Linked DNA regions of Homo sapiens: region 2 is linked to region 1. Evidence: promoter capture Hi-C in 16 types of primary human blood cells and fetal thymus (Javierre and others, 2016). All regions are on one chromosome and are shown on one strand. Each heading gives the region's core, a stretch centred on a gene start or on the middle of the fragment in contact. The rest is flanking DNA. Distances are from core to core; before and after follow the strand shown.

Region 1 (3,535 bases), core at 589-3,088:
CCACATCTGCCCCAGAGCAGGACTGGAAGCACTGGACTCTGCTACCAAAGTTGGCAGCTCAGCTTTGCCATCTCTAGAATGGAAGTGAGATTTCCACTAATAGGTATGAAGAATCTCTGAAAGTCACCAGCAAATCAGAGATGCCCAGCATCTTTGGAAAGTTCATTTGTAACTTCCTGAACTGAATGAATCCTAGGACACACAGTGTTGCTCAGAAGCACAGTGGCTAGAATCCTTCTTTCCCACAAGGGGCTGGAGAATACAACCAGGGAAGGAGGGCAGGTTTTTGCAGGGAACCCAAGGATAGTTAAGTATCTCCCTGGCCAGCCTGAGACTGGGAGGTCAAGAGCTGGGAGCAGATCTAACCCCATCCAAGGAGACTCAGAGGGGCTGCCCCAGGCCAACAGGCTAAGAACTTTCCCTGGATTCCAGGCTATTTCCAGAGCCTTGGGCCACTCACCTTGGGGAATCTTGCCACTGCCCTGGCAGGTGGGACAAGTCACGAAGCTGGCATCAGCAGTTCCTTCACAAGGCACACAGGAACAAAAAGACTTGCTGCTACCGGTGCTGGAGTAGTTGACAGCCTTGCTGCCAATGGCTGGTTTGGAGGACAGGATTGACTTGTTCTCATCCTCCCGCCAAGAGCCCAGCTGGGAAAACGTCTTACCCATTCTTCAGGGGCGGGGGTTTCACTAATGAGAAAAGACCAAAGTTCAGTGCTAAGCTTGTTAGCACTGACGCCAGATGTAATTTTGGTTTGAAGTTCTCAAGACTGGCAAGGAGCTTCACCACAGTTTAAGCAAGCTCAAGCCTAAGGAAGATAGGATGTGAAAAACTGGGTGGTCACATGGGACTCTCAGAAGTCTCAATGCATTTCGACTCCTTTCATTATTTTAAAAGAGACCAATCTGCCTACAAAAGGGAAAACAAAAGAAAAGCAGAAGTTACTTCACTTTAAGGAACTTCCATAAGTGATTGTCAGAGCATTTAATTTTTCTCTGGAAAAGTTGCTGAGCTGTCATTCAGTTTAAGGGAAGGAAGTTGGATAGGGCAGAAAAGAGATTCTTTGAATCAAGGAGAGAGGAGGCCAGACTGGTCACAGGTGTGGTTAAGACCCCTATCTAAAGAAGCCCTGGGAGAAAGCAGACACCTCACTGCTTTCTGAGGCGGGGTAAGAAAGCCTGAGGAGGGTCATAGTGATACCAGGGTCTGTCTTTCACTAGGAAAACTCAAGGCTAAATCTGGACTCTGTGTGACAGAACGAGGCCGGCAAGTGAGCCACACAGATCTTTCTGGGCTAAAATATAGGGATGCTCACCTTGTTCAGGTCTGGGATCCCAGGCTCCTCAGCCGCACGAGGGCGAGACTTCTGGAGTGCGTCTTTGGGGAGAAGGGCCTCTAAGGGCAGAGTGGGCTGGGCTGGGCTGAGCTGAGCTGGGCGGTGGTGGGGAGAAGCACCGCCTGGGGCCGGCAACCGGCCGGAGTCCTAGGGGAACGAATGTGCCGCACTGGAGAGTGGGGATAGTAAGGACGCTGACCTCCCCGAAGGGCCAAGCCGATTCCTGGGCTACATGGGGGCTCTGCCATGGGCCGACCGGGTGGAAGCGGACGGAGAAGGTGTGACTTCATTAAGGGAGGATTTCAAGTCCCACCACACACCCCTAGAGGCCGTTAGTCAAGCTTGGTACCCGTGCGGGGGGCGCCTGTGTGTTGGGCGAGGAGGCGGCAACAGGAGGTGTCTTGACCTCCGAAAGGTAAAGTAGGTATAAAGGGTCTAGGGAGGGCCTTACCCGCGGACGACTGCAGCGACAGAAACGGAAGAGAGTGGAATCGAAAATGCGGGAGCGAACACTCCCCTCAAGCTTTGACTCAGTGCCCAGGGAAGTCCCGCCCCAGCCCCTAAGGGCCCACCCCCCCGTCCCCCGGTCCGCCCCTTCGCCACGCAGCAGCCTGAGACGCTGCCAGCTCTTCAAACGTTACCCGAGGGCCCGGACGCTGCTTCCGCAAGGACTAGCCAGTCCGGGTAGGAATTTCCAAGAACATTTATTTCACCATTCTTTAGGTGGTTATGTACAAGTACATACATAACCAGGAGAGCAACCCGGGCCCTCCTGGCCCTCGATTATAAAACTCCGATGGTCAAGACAGGTCCCACCCATCAACCCAATTACACCCTGCCGCTCCACCTTCTACCCGGAAGCCCCGATTAAAACGTTTTAAATAATGAACGGCCTGGCTGGCTTGCAGTTTGAATCCTGGTTTATTTAAGTAGCATTCAGGAGTTATACTGTAAATAAACATCATTATGGCTAATGACTAATTAAAATCACCATTCATTACAAATACCAACCAGGTTAGATAATACTATTAACTATCTTTTCCCCTTCGGTCTGGGGTTCATATTCTTCCTTTTCTGGAAGTCATTTTCATGGATAAAATATTTAGCATTTTTTGTTACCTCTTCCTTCACCAACTGTACTCAACACACTTCTGTAAACAGAGTGAGAACCTGGGTTCATGGACAAGCTCTTTTCCACTTATCTTCGGGTTAAACCAAAACTTTTTCAGCAACTTTGCCCCTGTCCAAGTTTTGCAGAACACCAGCTGCCTCTTCCTGTTCTAGGCATTCTAGGGCTAGATACCTGTGAACGGACTTCAAGCATTAAAGAAGTCATCAGCATTTCCTATACCTCACACACACTCATTTGCCCACCCTGAACTTCACTGACATTAATTTAGGAGCCTGCCTTTTGCCTTTCACATGTTTCTATTTCCCCCACTGTACTGTAAAATAAGATCTGCCCTGACATTAAGAAAAAAGGCAACTGTTAAATTTACTTTTCCCTTTAAATAACGGGATTTTTTCCTTTTCTATAAGATTAGCAAAATATTTCACAATACCTATATTTTTTCCCTTAAATAAAAATGTATGCAAAATTACTATAATAGACATTGCTCAATAGGTGCTGGTAGGTTTATCAGCACACTCTTCCTCCTTTCATTGAAATGCGGAGATTCCCTTGAAGTTGGATACTCTTGAATGCACCATGGAGTCTTTAGAAAGCAACGGTGCCAATTATTAAGTATTGCAGGAAAATTACTTTCTCCTTGAGAGAGGAAGAGTAACAACATTTCTATCATGCTCTGGGTGTTATTTCAATGCCAAATAACTATGAAGCTTGAGGTGGATTACAGAAATTATGAGAATAAGAATTATGAGAATAATTCTTAAAAACAACTTCCGAGGTTAATGTCTTTCAAAACCTGAAAATTAACAGATATCCCCATAAAAAATCCACATTAGCCAAAGAAAAATACTCAGTTTCAATAAAAGCAGAAAGAAAAATGGTTCTATATGAAGTTGAAGTTACACTTGTCAATGCACTAAAATAGTTTTATCCAAATCAACTGAAAAACTGTCTTCATACTATTCATCCAATGTCTAAAGTGAAAATTTAAGTTCTGGTCTTTAGTTTGCTCCCCAAAATACTGTAGCAGGTATTGTCTTGGTAACTCAACGATGGGCTCTATACAG
Region 2 (3,283 bases), core at 784-3,283, 170 kb after region 1:
ATATGAATGTTCATCACAAAAACATAAATCAAGGCCGGGCATGGTGGCTCATGCCTATAATTCCAGCACTTTGGGAGGTCAAGATGGAGGTCAAGGTGGGAGCCTAGAAGTTCGAGACCAGCCTGGGCAACATAAGGAGACTTCATCTGTACAACAAATTTAAAAAGTAGCTGGGTGTGGTGGCAGATGCCTGTAGTCGCAGCTACTTGGGAAGCTGAGGTGGGAGGATCACTTGAGCTCAGGAGGTTGATGCTTCAGTGAGCCACGATCACACCACTGTACTCCAGCCTGGGCGACAGAGCGAGACCGTGTCTCAAAAAGAAAAAAGAAAGTATAAATTTACACAAAAACAATAAAATAATCCCAGTAATTCCACCACTTGGAGATGATCACCATAAAACTCCACCAGGCATATGTGCGTATATATACACGTGTATTTTATAAAATGTGATCATAATTACACTGTTTTGCTTTTTTCCTTAAGATATTACATACATTTTTCCACATCGTTAAATTACAGTGCTGTTTTCCTGGTGGCTTTCCTTTAACAGATTGAAGTTCATGTTAATACAGTTGCCAGAGGCTGTGGGCTTTCACTGTCACCAGGAGTCACTCCTAGGGCCTCTTCAGAGCAAGGCCTTATGTCCTGAAGCATTGCCTTTTTTTTTTTTTTTTGAGGTGGAGTCTCACTCTGTCACTTAGCAGGCTGGAGTGCAGTGGCCCAGTCTTGGCTCACTGCAACCTCCGCCTCCTGGGTTTAAATGATTCTCCTGCCTCAGCCTCAGGGCGGATCACCTGACATCAGGAGTTTGAGACCAGCCTGGCCAATATGGCGAAACCCCATCTCTACTAAAAATACTAAAAAAAATTAGCCAGGCATGGTGGCACGCACTTGTAGTCCCAGCTACTTGGGAGACTGAGGCAGGAGAATCGCTTGAACCCAGGATGTTGAGGTTGCAGTGAGCTGAGATCACACCATCACAATCCAGCCTGAGTGACAGAGTGAGACTCCATCTGAAAAAAAAGAAAAAACAATTAGCCTGGCATGGTGGCAGGCACCTGTAATCCCTGCTACTTGGGAGGCTGAGGCAGGAGAATTGCTTGAACCCGGGAGGTGGAGGTTGCAGTGAGCTGAGATCGTGCCATTGCATTCCAGGCTGAGCAACAAGAGCAAGACTCCGTCTCAAAAAAAAAAAAAAAAAAAAAAAAAGGCCAGGTGCAGTGGCTCACGCCTGTAATCCCAGCACTTTGGGAGGCCAAGGTGGGTGGATCACCTGAGGTCAGGAGTTCCAGAGCAGCCTGGCCAACATTGTGAAACCCCCGTCTCTACTAAAAATACAAAAATTAGCTGGGTGTGATGGCATGTGCCTGTAATTCCAGCTACTCAGGAGGCAGAGACAGGAGAATTGCTTGAACCCAGGAGGCGGAGGTTGAATGAGCCGAGATTGCGCCATCACACTCTAGCCTCGGCGACAGAGCAAGACTCCGTCTCAAAAAAAAAAAAAAAAAATTAGCTTCTACCTCATTAATCCTAAGAACTCATACAACCAGGACCCTGGAGTCGATTGATTAGAGCCTAGTCCAGGAGAATGAATTGACACTAATCTCTGCTTGTGTTCTCTGTCTCCAGCAATTGGGCAGATGTGTGAGGCACCTGTGGTGACCCGAGAGTGGGTGTTGGACAGTGTAGCACTCTACCAGTGCCAGGAGCTGGACACCTACCTGATACCCCAGATCCCCCACAGCCACTACTGACTGCAGCCAGCCACAGGTACAGAGCCACAGGACCCCAAGAATGAGCTTACAAAGTGGCCTTTCCAGGCCCTGGGAGCTCCTCTCACTCTTCAGTCCTTCTACTGTCCTGGCTACTAAATATTTTATGTACATCAGCCTGAAAAGGACTTCTGGCTATGCAAGGGTCCCTTAAAGATTTTCTGCTTGAAGTCTCCCTTGGAAATCTGCCATGAGCACAAAATTATGGTAATTTTTCACCTGAGAAGATTTTAAAACCATTTAAACGCCACCAATTGAGCAAGATGCTGATTCATTATTTATCAGCCCTATTCTTTCTATTCAGGCTGTTGTTGGCTTAGGGCTGGAAGCACAGAGTGGCTTGGCCTCAAGAGAATAGCTGGTTTCCCTAAGTTTACTTCTCTAAAACCCTGTGTTCACAAAGGCAGAGAGTCAGACCCTTCAATGGAAGGAGAGTGCTTGGGATCGATTATGTGACTTAAAGTCAGAATAGTCCTTGGGCAGTTCTCAAATGTTGGAGTGGAACATTGGGGAGGAAATTCTGAGGCAGGTATTAGAAATGAAAAGGAAACTTGAAACCTGGGCATGGTGGCTCACGCCTGTAATCCCAGCACTTTGGGAGGCCAAGGTGGGCAGATCACTGGAGGTCAGGAGTTCGAAACCAGCCTGGCCAACATGGTGAAACCCCATCTCTACTAAAAATACAGAAATTAGCCGGTCATGGTGGTGGACACCTGTAATCCCAGCTACTCAGGTGGCTAAGGCAGGAGAATCACTTCAGCCCGGGAGGTGGAGGTTGCAGTGAGCCAAGATCATACCACGGCACTCCAGCCTGGGTGACAGTGAGACTGTGGCTCAAAAAAAAAAAAAAAAAAAGGAAAATGAAACTAGAAGAGATTTCTAAAAGTCTGAGATATATTTGCTAGATTTCTAAAGAATGTGTTCTAAAACAGCAGAAGATTTTCAAGAACCGGTTTCCAAAGACAGTCTTCTAATTCCTCATTAGTAATAAGTAAAATGTTTATTGTTGTAGCTCTGGTATATAATCCATTCCTCTTAAAATATAAGACCTCTGGCATGAATATTTCATATCTATAAAATGACAGATCCCACCAGGAAGGAAGCTGTTGCTTTCTTTGAGGTGATTTTTTTCCTTTGCTCCCTGTTGCTGAAACCATACAGCTTCATAAATAATTTTGCTTGCTGAAGGAAGAAAAAGTGTTTTTCATAAACCCATTATCCAGGACTGTTTATAGCTGTTGGAAGGACTAGGTCTTCCCTAGCCCCCCCAGTGTGCAAGGGCAGTGAAGACTTGATTGTACAAAATACGTTTTGTAAATGTTGTGCTGTTAACACTGCAAATAAACTTGGTAGCAAACACTTCCACCATGAATGACTGTTCTTGAGACTTAGGCCAGCCGACTTTCTCAGAGCCTTTTCACTGTGCTTCAGTCTCCCACTCTGTAAAATGGGGGTAATGATAGTATCTACCTCCTAGGATTTATTGAGGCAGCTTAAATACCTTTTGTAT

Evidence for each region. Contacts are between HindIII fragments. The CHiCAGO score rates a contact against its expected background, and 5 or more counts as called.
Region 2: a contact is called between a fragment that was not itself captured here and the fragment with the promoter of TMEM106A in region 1, in 3 of 17 cell types (endothelial precursors, megakaryocytes and M1 macrophages). The highest score is 8.3, in endothelial precursors.

The regions. Positions count from the first base shown.
Region 1 is chr17:43,210,178-43,213,712 of GRCh38, reverse strand. It overlaps TMEM106A (transmembrane protein 106A), which reads right to left and starts at 1,838. Exons shown (of 9, transcript NM_145041.4): 1 at 1,791-1,838; 2 at 1,319-1,486; 3 at 461-692. The coding sequence starts at 671. NBR1 (NBR1 autophagy cargo receptor) reads right to left here. Exons shown (of 21, transcript NM_005899.5): 21 at 2,025-3,535. The HindIII fragment of the contact is 182 bases long and covers 1,683-1,864 here.
Region 2 is chr17:43,044,150-43,047,432 of GRCh38, reverse strand. BRCA1 (BRCA1 DNA repair associated) reads left to right here. Exons shown (of 23, transcript NM_007294.4): 23 at 1,631-3,138. The coding sequence ends at 1,755. Among named protein-coding and RNA genes, the nearest start is that of RND2, 21 kb to the right of the region's middle. The HindIII fragment of the contact is 9,714 bases long and covers 1-3,283 here.